5 separate regions of the Homo sapiens genome follow, and regions 1, 3, 4 and 5 are each linked to region 2. Evidence: promoter capture Hi-C in 16 types of primary human blood cells and fetal thymus (Javierre and others, 2016). All regions are on one chromosome and are shown on one strand. The core of a region is centred on a gene start or on the middle of the fragment in contact, and the rest is flanking DNA. Distances in the headings are between cores, read along the strand shown. Region 1 has its middle 30 kb from the start of TES. Region 2 holds the start of CAV2 (caveolin 2). Region 3 has its middle 77 kb from the start of TES. Region 4 overlaps TES (testin LIM domain protein). Region 5 has its middle 47 kb from the start of TES.

Evidence for each region. The method cuts DNA at HindIII sites, captures the fragments that hold promoters and counts their contacts. A CHiCAGO score of 5 or more calls a contact.
Region 1: a contact is called between a fragment that was not itself captured here and the fragment with the promoter of CAV2 in region 2, in 2 of 17 cell types (total CD8 T cells and endothelial precursors). The highest score is 6.3, in total CD8 T cells.
Region 3: a contact is called between a fragment that was not itself captured here and the fragment with the promoter of CAV2 in region 2, in 1 of 17 cell types (total B cells). The highest score is 5.5, in total B cells.
Region 4: a fragment that was not itself captured here is called in contact with the fragment with the promoter of CAV2 in region 2 in 1 of 17 cell types (endothelial precursors); the score reaches 6.9 in endothelial precursors.
Region 5: a contact is called between a fragment that was not itself captured here and the fragment with the promoter of CAV2 in region 2, in 8 of 17 cell types (naive CD8 T cells, naive B cells, total CD4 T cells and 5 more). The highest score is 7.4, in naive CD8 T cells.

The regions. Positions count from the first base shown.
Region 1 is chr7:116,178,820-116,181,519 of GRCh38, reverse strand. No RefSeq gene overlaps it. Among named protein-coding and RNA genes, the nearest start is that of TES, 30 kb to the left of the region's middle. The HindIII fragment of the contact is 2,686 bases long and covers 12-2,697 here.
Region 2 is chr7:116,498,205-116,500,996 of GRCh38, reverse strand. CAV2 (caveolin 2) reads right to left here and starts at 1,259. Exons shown (of 3, transcript NM_001233.5): 1 at 1,066-1,259; 2 at 550-737. The coding sequence starts at 1,215. CAV2-DT (CAV2 divergent transcript) reads left to right here and starts at 1,481. Exons shown (of 3, transcript NR_188012.1): 1 at 1,481-1,643. RefSeq lists a silencer at 1,287-1,376 and enhancers at 1,557-1,696, 1,743-2,244. The HindIII fragment of the contact is 7,148 bases long and covers 1-2,792 here.
Region 3 is chr7:116,132,075-116,134,774 of GRCh38, reverse strand. It overlaps a transcript of TFEC not described here. Among named protein-coding and RNA genes, the nearest start is that of TES, 77 kb to the left of the region's middle. The HindIII fragment of the contact is 1,045 bases long and covers 736-1,780 here.
Region 4 is chr7:116,216,774-116,219,473 of GRCh38, reverse strand. The region is part of intron 1 of TES (testin LIM domain protein); the gene reads right to left. Among named protein-coding and RNA genes, the nearest start is that of TES, 7.6 kb to the right of the region's middle. The HindIII fragment of the contact is 2,110 bases long and covers 322-2,431 here.
Region 5 is chr7:116,162,305-116,165,004 of GRCh38, reverse strand. No RefSeq gene overlaps it. Among named protein-coding and RNA genes, the nearest start is that of TES, 47 kb to the left of the region's middle. The HindIII fragment of the contact is 5,978 bases long and covers 1-2,700 here.

The DNA.
Region 1 (2,700 bases), core at 105-2,604, 320 kb after region 2:
CTGTGGAAGCTTTGTTTTTTTGCTCTTTGCAATAAATCTTGCTGCTGTTGACTCTTTTGAGTCCACACTGCCTTTACGGGCCTGTAACACTCACGGCAAAGGTCTGCAGCTTCGCTCCTGAAGCCAGTGAGACCAAGAACCCACTGGAAGAAACGAACAACTCCAGACGCACCGCCTTGAGAGCTGTAACGCTGACCGCGAAGGTGTGCAGCTTCGCTTCTGAGCCAGCGACACCACGAACAAACCAGAAGGAAGAAACTCCGAACACATCTGAACAACAGAAAGAACAAACTCCGGATACTCCGCCTTTAAGAAGTGTAACACTCACCGCGAGGGTCCACGGCTTCATTCTTGAAGGCAGTGAGACCAAGAACCCACCAATTCCGGACACATCGAGACAAAACATATATGGAAGAAACAAATATGCAAAATGTTAATGAGGTAGGAGGTCTATGAGTAATATTGTTCAATCTTTACTTTTCTGTACTAAACGTTTCCATGTTAGTGAAAATTCTAAACATTTAATATGAAAGTACATATATATATAAAAGTTAATTGCAGTTGTCTGCAGGAATAATTAGAAAAAGGAAAAAGTTTAAGAAATAAATGTCAGCTTTATTCAGCCTAATCTTATTTTTCTTTATTCTAGGAGATAGACTTAAAACATTTTTTTCTCATCTTTTTTTTTTTGAAGATAGATAATTTCTAGAATCAAAATAATAGAGTCCCTATTACATGATTTAATTTTTTTCTTCAGAACATCCAGTTCTTTTCAGTCTGCTCTGGGTGCTCATCAAACCTTATGCAATCTATGTATTGGGCTTCATTGTGTCGTAGGTGAACAACCAGTCTCAATTCTTGATAGGGAGAGTATGTCTCAGTGATTCATTGTGTGACAAAGTTGCCAGTACAAGAGACTACCTGGTGGTCAGTAAGCTGCAGACCAAGAGTAACTTAAAGGACTCCTCCGGACTTCAGCTCAGTCAAGGATATCTAACACTGTTTTGAGGCACCTACCTGGTCTTCTTTCTCAAGGAATGTTATTGTTGCCAAAGCCCTTGTAAAGACAGCTATAAGATACTTTGAGTTCTGTCAGGCATTGCAGAAGTTGTTGGAGACCCCTGGTGGCAATATAAAGGATAAACAGCTCACTGCAAAGTTTGATGCTAGTATGGAAAATAGTATCAATGGGAAGAGAAACTATTCTCTCTTAGCCTCCTTTTGCTTCTCTGACATTTCTATTCTTTCTCCTGCTGTTTCAAAAATTTGTTATTCTTTAAAGATTTTTCCATGCTATTCTCATTTATACATGTTCCCTGAGTGATCATACCCATTCACCAAATCATACTTTCAGCATGGTTTTCTCCGTTGAGTTTCATGCCTGTATTTCCACTTCCTTGCTACTTATTTCTATATATAGATATCTCTTAAACTCAACATTACAAAAAGGCACTAATTGTCTATGTTTTCTAATTCTATATTTCCTATCCAATGAAATACTATCACAATACAGCCAGGCTAGAGGGCTTATACTTCAAGGTACAAAGAGTATGGCACACTTACCAGGTGTGAGGCACAGGGGTAGGTGCTGGGATAAGGAAAAGAAAGTCACATCTTAGAGCAGAGTGAGAAAACATATCCTTTAATGTGATAGAGGAATACAGGTAGTGCTTTGGAAGTTCTGAGGAAGGAGACCTAACTCAGACTGAGATGGAAAGATTCAAGATGAAGAACTCTTAGAAGAAATTACTATAAAGCTGTATTGTAGACAGTAAGAATTTGTCTGTTATAATCTGAATTTTACTCTCCCCCCAAATTCATATATTGAAGTCATAGCATTCAGTAACCTTGAATGTGTCTGTATTCTGAGATATTGTCTTTAAAGAGATAAGTTAAAGTGAGGTGAGTAGGGTAGGCCCTAATTTCATATGAATGGTGTCCTTATGAGAAGAAGAAATTTGGACACAGACATGGACAGAGGAAATATGTGAAAACACAGGAAAACAGCCATTTACAAGCCAATGAGAGACCCCATAGAAGAAATCAACTGTGCTGACTTGTTTATGTTGGACTTCTAGCCTCCAGAACTCTGAGAAAATTTATGTTAAGTTACCCAGTCTGTGGTACTTCATTATGGTGGCCCTCGCAAACTAATATAGTCTGATTTCTTTTTCGAGGTAATGGTAAGACTGTTCTAAGCAGAGGGAAGAAAATATGCAAAACAAATGGCCATCAAAGATGATAGCTTACTTGAGAAACTAAAAGTAGTTTGGCACTACCGGATCACTGGTCATATAGTGGGTAAGGGCCGTCGAAAATTTGGGGTAGTGAGATCTGAGAGACCAGATTATGAGAGGCATCATGTGCCAAATTAAATGGTGGAAATTGAGGTGGCAGGAAGGGGAAGACATGGAATTAAAGGAAGTAGTATTAAAGGAGATCTCATACATTGCAATTGGTTTTCTCCAATCAAAGTTAATCATGGGTGTATAACTCTTAGGTCTCTGTCTAGCCCAGTTTTCTATGTTAATGACTAGTAGTATTTCATGATAATTACCAATTGTCTAAGAGATAGAGAAATACTTCCAAGAACCTCATTAATTTTTTTCTCTCACAAGATGTTTATTCCCTCTGAGCAAACTAAATATTACTTTACTTAATTTTATATCATTATGCTTTCCTCCCTTATTCTAAGCTTCT
Region 2 (2,792 bases), core at 10-2,509:
CACACCTCCCTTTCCTCTGGGTCCCATCCTTGCCATCTGCCAGGGGCAAAGTTGAAGCAGCCCCTCCACACTACTGCTTAACCAGGTCTGACATCCTCATCCAATTCTACTGTCAGCGGCATTCTGCTCAGAGATCACTTTTGTTTTACCCCAAGCACAGGCAGTGACTGAATAAAAGGCAATGAAAGAAAGAAGAGTCCTGCCCAGAACCGCAGGTACGAGTCACAACAGGGCCCCGAGAGCAGCCTGTGGTAAGAAGTGTGGCTTCCAGGTACCCGCCTCCACACTCAGCCCAGCCTTATGTATGCAAGGAAAATCACACCCCAGGAAAGACCGACATTCTTTCTCCTGTTGAAACTCCAAGCCCAAACTGTTATTCTAAAGGAAGCGCATTGCCTTTCAAGGCCTTCCAGTTCTTCCTACTGCTTGGGAACTGATGCGCGTTCCTCCTCCTGACGCCGGCCTGGGATAAGAGGAGAGTAGGGGGCAGGTGGCGGAGAATATGCCCATGTTTCAGAAAGCCGGTCCACCCGGTGTGCCCCGTCTCACCAGATGTGCAGACAGCTGAGGGTGGCAAAGAGAATTCCCGCAATGAAGGCCAGGGGAATGGCCAGGAACACCGTCAGGAACTTGTACATTACGTATTTGCTGATTTCAAAGAGGGCATGGCTGCAGATCCACACTTTGTCAAAGGAGTGCGTAGTCACCGGCTCTGCGATCACATCCTCGAAGCCCAGCTGAGGAGACAGGACGCAGGGACCCCGAACTGTCAGCCAACCTGACGCCCCGGGAACCGGGAGCGCTTTGGGCGGGGGAAGCAGGAGGGAAGGACGTGCCAGGGCGTCCGCCTCTTCTCTTAGGGTCACGGTGGGCGCACAGGAACCTGGCTAAGAATTCCTGGCTACGCGGGCGGCCTGGTGACGGGTGGGACCGGGGAAGGGTGCGGGTCTCAGACCCTGCGGGGCCGACCCGGTAGCAATGGTGGGACGGGTTAGGGCGGGGCTGAGGGGCGCCCGCACCTCCCGGCCTCAGCGGGGACTTGGGCCCGCCCGCCCCGGGCTTCACCTTGAGATGCGAGTTGAGCCGGTGGGGATCCCGGTCCTGGTCCGAGTCCGCGAACTTCTCGGGGTCGGCGTACTCGAGGCCGCTGTGGTGGCTGTAGGAGTCGTCGTCCATGAAGAGCTGTACGTCCGCCTTCTCCGTCTCCAGCCCCATCGCAGCCTTGGTGCGCGGCCGCTGCAGCCCGGCTGGCGCGGTGCGGCTCCCGGTCCGCGCGGCCTCCCCTTCCCGTAGCGCCCGGCCCCGCCCCCCCTCGCCTCGCCTAGCCCTGCGAGGCCCGGGCGGCGGCCGCTTCCCGCTGTGGGCTCCAGCTCCCAGCCCGGCCGTCCCGAGCCCCGCCCCGGCGCCCCGCCGCCCCTCCCCGCCCACCTCCCCCGCCGGGGCGCAGGGAACCGTCCCCACGAGTCACAGCCCGGGCCCTGCAGTGGGCGGCGACGCCGGCAGCTGGGACGAGGAGGGCCTCCTGGTCACCCTTCTGGGGGCCCGTACTGTCATGCCTCAGAGCTGGCAAGTCGTCCCAGGGAAGACAACGGCCTTCCTGGAGGGAGGGAACCTTGTGGTTAGGCGCATGGGGTGCGAAGCAGGTATGTGCTCACCTCCGGCTGTGTTTGCCTTGCGTGCTGCGGCTCATGGTGCTGGTATTGAGCCTCTGGGAACCTCAGCTGCCTCGTTGGCAAAATGGGGGCTGTGGCATCTGTTTCAGGGGTGTCCGTGAGAATTAAATGTTAATTTCACATAAAATTCTAACACACATGGCCCATGGCCCGTAACACACAGTGATAAACTTCCAATCAACGTTGTTGCTGCTGTCGTGAGAGGTAAGGAGCCACAATGTACCTGAGTGCTAGGTACCTGAGTGCTAGGTGACCTGCAAGTGCATGTGGAGTTGGGTAGGCGAACGCCCTGGCCCTAGAGTTTGTGCCTTCAGATCTGAGGTGTGAGGGGAGATCTGATTTTTTTTTTTTTTTTTTTTTTACTTCCTAAACTACACCGTGTGTGTGTGTGTGTGTGTGTTTGTGTGTGTGTGGCAGAGTTTCGCTCTTGTTGCCCAGGCTGGAGTGCAATGGCACGATCTCGGCTCATCGCAACCTCTGCCTCCCGGGTTCAAGCGATTCTCCTGCCTCAGCCTCCCGAGTAGCTGGGATTACAGGCATGCACCACCACGCCTGGCTAATTTTGTATTTTTAGCAGAGACGGGGTTTCCCCATGTTGGTCAGGCTGGTTTCGAACTCCCAACCTCAGGTGATCCGCCCGCCTCGGCCTCCCAAAGTGCTGGGATTGCAGGCGTGAGCCACCGCGCCCGACCTCCACCTTTTAATTTTCTTGTGAACCAGACTGTCTTGAAAGATTCAGGAACTTCTAAGATGCAGTCACATCTGTGATTATCTTGCAGGCAGCACGGAAACAGAACCCTAACACAAAGCCACATTGCAATGGATGAATTAGCCTGCTGACCACTCACGCAAAGGTTTTCAGAAGGGAGGAGTTTGCATGTTCATAAAGGGCTTTAGGGTCTGGTAGACATATACGTGTGTTTGGGGAGGAAGGGCACTTAGTGAAAATTTGCCAAAAGCAAAACAATGAGAACTAGGCTTGAGGTGCAGGTTGCTCAGAGCTCAAAGTAGGCATGTAGTAGGTATTGCTGGATACAGTGTATTTGGAGCTTGTTGAACATATCAAATCCCCTTATGTGAACTGGATTTGAAGAATTGCTTCTTCCGAAAGAAAAAAGA
Region 3 (2,700 bases), core at 9-2,508, 370 kb after region 2:
GCATACCTTTTGTTTTCCATTAATATGAACATATTTGTAAGATGTGTATAATTAGAGAAAGTATTTGGGTTCATATACTTAATGCAGTTATCAAAAAAGGGCGAAGAAGACTTCTAATTTTTCGTATAGCAATGCTCACAGTCTTATTAACCTGTTTTCATGTAATTTTTTCCTTCAAAATAAATGATTCAAAACTAACCACATTTACTCTTGATATGTAAAAGTAATAAAAAGAAGTGAATAAAAAAAATTTCAGAGACCCAAAGGGAAGGGTTTGAACTAGAATTTAGGTGGAAAACAGGTCATTTCTGTGCATAGTAATGTTTCTGATTAGCTTTTAAGTAAGAGGTGATTCAATTTGTGTACAATGTGTAATTGATTTAGAAGCAGCAATATATGGTATACATTTTTCCTTCCCTCTTTCTTTTTATTCTTATTTTTTATATCTAGCATGAGAACAGAAGTCAAGCATAGACACCCTGCTTTAAATATGATAAAGGATAAAAGCTGTCATTCTAGTTTCACAGCTTTTCAACTATTTAATCTAAAAGTTTCTGAACTTACACAGATCATTTACTTGACTCAGTCTTTTATATTAATTTTATTTCTTTTAATGTATGCAGCCTTTGTTCTTAAATATTCTTATTCATAAACCAGACACATTTAAGTTGACATCCTTAGCATGTAGAATTTTTCTACAAAGACCTAGTGAGGCAGTTATTTTTAGCTTAAGCTTTTAGTCTGGATTGACTGGCCTGCTATCTCTTGGCTTGGTTTGCCAGCTTTTTCTGTCAGTGATTACACATCAGGAGCTTATGTTGATCTAATTTTTTTTTGTTGTTGCTATTGTTTTGCATTATTACTGCTCAGGACCTGTTCTTCTCTTTTACCTGCTTAACTAATTCAATAGTATTCTACTTCATAAACATCGCTCTCTAATCTTAAAGATGTCTTAGGCATCTAAAAAGCTGCTATTCATAAAGTTTTAGCGTTTACTACAGTACCATAGGTTAAGCTCTGAAAGATAACACAAGAACATGAGAAGTAAAGAGGTAAATTTTCTTTTTCTTTTAATTATTTCAAAGAAAATTCAGTCAGGAAAAAAAAGCTACATTTTTGGGAAATCAACAAGAGGGGCATGAAAAGTCTTTAATTTAAATGATTAAATTATGTTTCCCAGAAATCATTTATTGGCAAAGAATGTTTTTCCCCATCCCCCTACTTTTTTTTTTTTTTTCTGAGACAGAGTCTTGTTCTGTCACCCAGGCTGGAGTGCAGGGGCGTGATCTCAGCTCACTGCAATGTCCACTTTGTGGGGTTCCTCAGTCCCCTGTGTAGCTGGGAATACTGGCACACGCCACCACGTCTGGCTAATTTTTGTATTCTTAGTAGAGATGGGGTTTCACCCTGTTGGCCAAGCTGGTCTCGAACTCCTGGCCTCAAGTCATCTGCCTGCCTTGGCCCCCCAAAGTGCTGGGATTACAGGCATGAACCACCGTGCCTGGCCAGACTTTTCTAATTAAGGAAAGAATTATTTTCGTTTGGTACATAACACGTTTGTAGTTTTGTTGCCGAGAATCTAAACATAAGGTATTGTGAGGTAAACAAAAATTAAATCACTCTTTGTCATTATGTAACTTTTGAAAATTGACAAAAACTGAAAAGATTATAAGCAACTTAAAAATCGATGATAGCTTTTATTGCATACATTTATTTTCTTTTTAAGCACTGTAATAATTTATTTTCTAAAGTAGTCTTAAAACTGTTTTGAAGAAAAGCTTAAAAATTAATGAAACAAAGCTACAAAGTTGACAATGTATTGAAAAGAGGACAGATAAATGAGATAAAAGACAAAAAACACAATTGGTGAAATTTTATATGCATATTAATTAAAATATTCACTGTAAACATTCACAACAAAATTTAATGATGCTTTGCCATTTCAGGAAAAGATTTCTCACTTTTTTCCAGCTAACTAATATTCTATAGCTTGTTTAAAAGTTGTTTTAACGCTATAGTTCTCAAAGAATGTTCTATAGTTCCCGAGGTGTCTCCTAAAACATTTTATTGCTAAAATGTTATTTTCCATTTTCACAGTTTGAATATTTGCACTTACTGTGCAAAAGCAATGGTGAATAAATTGCATGTGCCTTTTTATGAATGAAGGCCGTGGCACCAAACCGCTAGTCAGTCATTATATTCTTCACTGCCATGCACTCACAGTTAAAGAAAACAATGCCAACTTTACTTAGGATTGCCTTTGATGAAGCTGTAAAAATTATTAACTTTATTAGACCTGATCCTTGAGCATATTCAGTTTTTCGAGAGTTATACTTAGCTGATAATATTCTAAGCTTTGATCTTTTTTGCATATTTAAAAAAATTCACTGTAGACCTGAATAGCCAACTACTTTACCTGATGCCAGACCCAAGAAGCAGAAATTTGTTCAAATCCTTAAGAAAACATTAAGAAATAGCATTTTTGAACAGTGCCATATAAACAACACTAAAGGATATGGTTTATGGTAGAGTTAGGGGATTTCCATGAGTAATTTTGATTACATACATTTCTTTGACTTATAGGCCAACTTTATGCACTAATTCCTTAAAATGATGCCGTTGGCTTCTCTGCAGTACATCTTATCACCTGCTATGCATGTTTTGCTGATCTAGGGGAAACAGCATACTTTATGATGGAAA
Region 4 (2,700 bases), core at 127-2,626, 280 kb after region 2:
AATGAGCTAGACTCTACTGTGAAATTTCCTCCTCTCTCTCAATAGATGACACAATGTATTAAATAATCATCACAGTTAAGGGAGATCAGAAACTCTTCAGCTGTGGGCTAGGGTCTTATACTAGCTCAGTGACATACCTCTTTAATTCAAACCTGTACTGTGGAAAAATTACAAATTACTGCAGCTCATCTACTTTAGCTTTATTTTAGAAGAGACAAAACTGAAAATGTCAAGGGTGGTTTTACTGACTTTTCACAGCCAGGTACCTTTGGTTCATGCTATTTCCTCTTTATGGAATGCTTTCTTTGCCTAATGAAAGCTTCTTTATTCTATAGGAGGTGTTTCCTTGATAAAATAATCGCAACCCACACAATTAAAGTTAGTTACTTCTGCTTCTAAGACTTCATAACAGTTGTTTGTATTTCTATTATTGCTGTGCTACTCAAAGTGGCAGTTCACAAAGTGTAAGTCACTAGTCTGTGATGAGATAGGCAGAGAAACTGACAGTAGGCAATTAGGAACTACTATATACTTAAAGTAATTTTGTGTCTCTTGCATTTAATAATTTTTTTAATTGGCCCTGTATTTGTCTTTTAAGTAATAAATTTTTATTGTGTTTTTAAAAATATCAACCAATGATTAATTTTTGTTTATAAAAAGGTTCCTCATCCCAGATAAGAAATTGTATTATAGCACTTATGTCATTCTATCCAGCACTGTAGTTAACTTACACATCTGTTTTGCTCACTCATCTTCCTTCCTTTTTTAAAAAAAAATCTATCAAAGGTGACATCGGTATTTTGCTCAAGAGGTGATACTGATAGATATGGAGTTTAGAGTCTGTAGTTTTAAATCTAAACTGCACTTTTAATATTCTCTACGAAAAACAAAGGGTAATTTTTTTAACCCCCAGTTATTTTTATTGTAGGCCAGTATCTCATAAAGGAAAAATCAGATCCTTGATCCTTACTTTGTGACTCATTCTGTTAAGACTGTCACGTTGTGGTCATATAAAAACAAAAATCCACCTAACATCTACATGGTCATTTTTCAATGAAACATGATATCACTTTATCATCAAACAAAGCAAGGGAAAAGTTCATTGTGGCTAGAGATGCATTAATGGACTCCTTATCAAGGCATTTCTGCTGGGCTGAATGCCATCTTTTCTGCTGGGCTCGCTGCTCAGATAAGCTATGCAATGAACACCCTGAAACTCCTGTTTACAGCTTTTCACAGTGGCCAGAATGTCACAATGATAAACACAAGCTGAATCACTCATGGTTTGAGGATAATTCAGCATTTCAGATTAAGTATATTTACAGAGTAGTAACTTTGCTGTCATTCAGCAGATGAGATCTCAGCAATCCCCACTAGGCTGGCTTCTAATAACGCTCTCCCACTTTAAGCCATGCTCAAATCTGAGCCGACTCCCCACCATTCTAACAGACTAAGGAACAGAGAAATTGGCAATTCTAAACTATGCTTTTTTACTTTTTTGAATTTGACCAAAATAAATACAGTGATACTTAGAAAATTATAGTCATGCATATCCTTATCGCTCTAATTCCCCATTATCTAACTAGAATGTTAGGTAGACAGGGCACTTAGAACTGAAAATTGACAAAACCATGCTAAATGGCAGCTCTTTTGTAGGAGAGTCAAAGATTGTAGTTGGGCAGTTGAAAAGCATAACCTCTAAATTTAATCCTCTAATAGTGCTTGAGGCAAATTTTAAACATGGATATTTACTCAAAGAACAGTAGTGAAGTTATCAATTACCAAATTATTTTTCTTTAAAATCCTGAAAATCTGCAGTTTTGCAATGTTTTTGATTAGTCTTTTGTTTCCTTATCTTCCTCTCCTAGAAAAAGTTGATTTCATAATTAATAATATAATTTCTCTGGATACCACCACCTTGTAAAAAGTAAAATAATTTCCTGTATATTAATGATTTAATAAACAATTCTTTTAAAATCATAATTTTGGTTACCATGGCAGTAGTTACCAAACAAAAATTAGCTATGACTGCAAACAGGAAATCCAAGAATGACTCTTTTGTAAGGCATTTGTAGGCAGGGAGAAGACTTATAGTTTGTGTATATTATAGGTGTAAGTCTATTTGTATAGCTTTATGCATTCATAATCTTTTTCACATTCTAATACATAAAAGCTGCTTTCTCATTTTCCCATCTTTTACATTTGCTATTACTTAAGACAAATGAAATAAGAATCCCTAATTACAAAGTTTGCAAAACCAAGAATCAAGCCCAGGGATCACCATCAAAATTGCTCACTGTCTGTGTTAGAAACATAGCGTACTGCTAACCTATCAAGAGTTCACTGACGGGTATAATTCCAGTTGTGCTTACTTTCAATATTTACATTGCTCTATCAACACTTGCAATAGCATAATTCTATGATACAAGCTTAAGTTCAGTGTCATTCTTGTTCACAACTATAACCCCAGAGTCTAGAACAGTGCATGGTACGTAAAAAAGCACTCATATAGTTTTTTTTTAATCTTTTAAAATTATTTTAACAGCCTTATTTTGAGAGAGATAACTTTTAAAGAAAATAAATGTTCCATTATTTTTCATTTTCCCATAATTAAATACCAAGGTAAGTAATACATCACTCCTAGACTTATGGGACCCACACTATTACAGCCTTCAGAGCCTTATACTACAGATTTAAATT
Region 5 (2,700 bases), core at 82-2,581, 340 kb after region 2:
CCCAGAATTGCTGTCAGAATTAGAAGTGATGTTTGTAAAATGCCTATTATCACCCCCAGCAATTGTGGTGCAGCATTACTAATATTATCATATTGCATAGACATTCATAATTATTTAATATTTTCCTGCATATTTACTTTAACATAAAAGAATCAAGCCTTAAAAATCTCTTGCTGGGGAATTATATGCATTCATTTGGAAATGGGAGTGATGATTCTGGGTGAAACATTTCTCAATCTTGCTCAGTCAAAGGGGTTTTCCACTGAGCATATGTTCTGCAGATGTTTATTAAAACATGCTTCTACATAAGTACCAGACATGGAGAGCTCAATTATTGCTAAATTTTCCATGGTCTATTTTATAATTCTTAATCTTTGAACTCTGGACCACTGATAATTTTAAAAGTAATAGGAGGAGGAATAAAATTATTTCCAGCAAAATTTTGTGTATGTACAAAGGATGTAAATGCTTACAAAAACAAGTGTATAAGCATGGAGTTTTTATAACGAATGACAGCAAGGAAAGTCACCCACTGACTTCTAGATTTTTCTGAATGAGTTAAAAAAATGTCATACAACTTTATTTTAGTTTCTTCTTCTATAAAACAGGGAAAATCCCAATTAATCTCTTCTCAAGCCTCACGTTTGTGATGATTTGTCAAGTTACCCATGGCAGAGTTTCCTAGACGTCTATCCGGATTCATCTCCCCTTATTTTAAAAAGAAATCTTGAGTTTCTGAAGGGTGTGTGGCTGCTCGGTAGGCATTCTGTTTCCCAGTTCCTCTCATAGACTTAGTTGGGACCAAAGGAATAGGAGAGAAAGTGATGTGTGTTACTAGAAGGTGATGCGACTGGGACAGCCAAGGTGGCCCAGAGATGGAACACCCTGTTGAGAAAGGCAGATTCTCTCACCCGATCTGGGACTACTAATCTCTGCATAATCAAATGAGCACAAAATAAACTTACACTTTGTTTATACCACTGTATTTGGGGTCTCTATTTCAGAAGCTCAGCCTGTGTCCTACTTATTCAACCCCTTAGAGGAATACAGCACTAATATAGAGGAAAAGGTAGTTTCCAGGTAAACTGGGCACATTTGTGGGCTCTTTACTGTGCTGAGTGTATACTCCTGACAGCTGGTAGTGGCAAGTTAGAAACATCAGATACCTTTAGAAATTCCAGGGATTTCTATTGAGCTGCTGGTCTGTGGGACTGAGCTGTGCCAACATTAATAGTCTCAGAAGTTCTCAAGCAGCTTTTGGAACAGTAGCTTTCCTGGCTGCTCTGACTTCAAGATGCAAGTGCATGGCAGCTTTAGTGTTTCTTCTTTTGTCCCAGACTTTGCCCTGTGGTTTCTTTGGGATGGACTACCCAGACAATGCCTCTGTCCTTTTCCTGTTCATGTAGAACATAGAACATGACCTCCAACCAACCTGAACAATTGAATTTGCAGTTGTTCTTTGGGATAATACTCTGCTCCTGGTAACAGTGGTCCCTTCCTGGTTTCTCTGGAATTAAACTCTGGGCTATATTGTCAGGGGACCATTTATTGATTAGCTCAAATGTAGTTGAAATTTAGGAAAATGAACTCTATAGAGTTTAGGATTTGTAAATGCAGGCACTGGCAATTTTGCTAATCATATATAACAAAGGGATATTTTGTTACAACAATAGAAACCAATGACTACTGAGTATTTTACAAAACAGCTCACAGTAATCCTATGCCTCCCAGTATGTTTTCCTCCCTATTAGTTACATTATGAAAGGTTTGATTGATTGATTGAAGATTTCTAGGCTGATGTGCCTATTGTACTTTGTAAGCCTACATTGCCTCCTGCTGGCTCTTCTTTCTAAATAACTCTTCTCATGTCTCTTCAGAAATAGATCAACAGGCCTTTCTTTTTGTTTGTTTGGTGTTTTGTGTGTGTGTGTGTGTGTGTGTGTGTGTGCCACATATGTTGCCTCTGTGTTTTCTATCTAGACTATCCTGATTCCTGATCCTTCTCATCAAAGAACACATTTTCAAAATAACTAACCTTTAGCAAATAAAATTTCTCTTCCTCCTCCTTCTCCTACACAAACTCTGTTCTTGTACATCTGTTAAAGCAAAGCCCTCCTTTCCTGCTATCCATATCATGATGCTATCTCTGACTATAGCTGTATGTATATAGCGCTATATATATTCCTGCATATAGCGCCATATATATATATATTCCTGCATATGCAGACACATTTCTTGGCTCTCCAGTTTGACTCTTGCCATAGTAATATAGGAAAGACCCTGTGAATGGCTGCAGTAAGAAAACCTGGTTTTCTTATATATGTGCATATATCATCAAGGGAGTTGGGACCAATTTTTTCAGCTGGACTATTTCAGTAGCCTTCCAATTCATCTTCCTGCTTCTGTAATTGCACCCCCCTCCCCAGTCTGTCCTCCACAAAGCAGCCTGGGTGACTTGGTGATCCTTTGAAAATATAAGTTGAATCATGTTTCTCCTCTGCTCAAAACCTTCTAATGCTTTCTAATGCTAAGAATAATATTCATTGTCCTCATCATAGCCTGCTAGGCACCTGGTTCCTCTTTCATTTCTCTGATCTTATCCCTTATATTCTTTCTCTTACTCATGTTGCCTGAGTCTAAATGGCTTTAATACTATTTTTTTAACTTTTATTTTAAGTTCAGGGGTACAAGTGCCAAGTT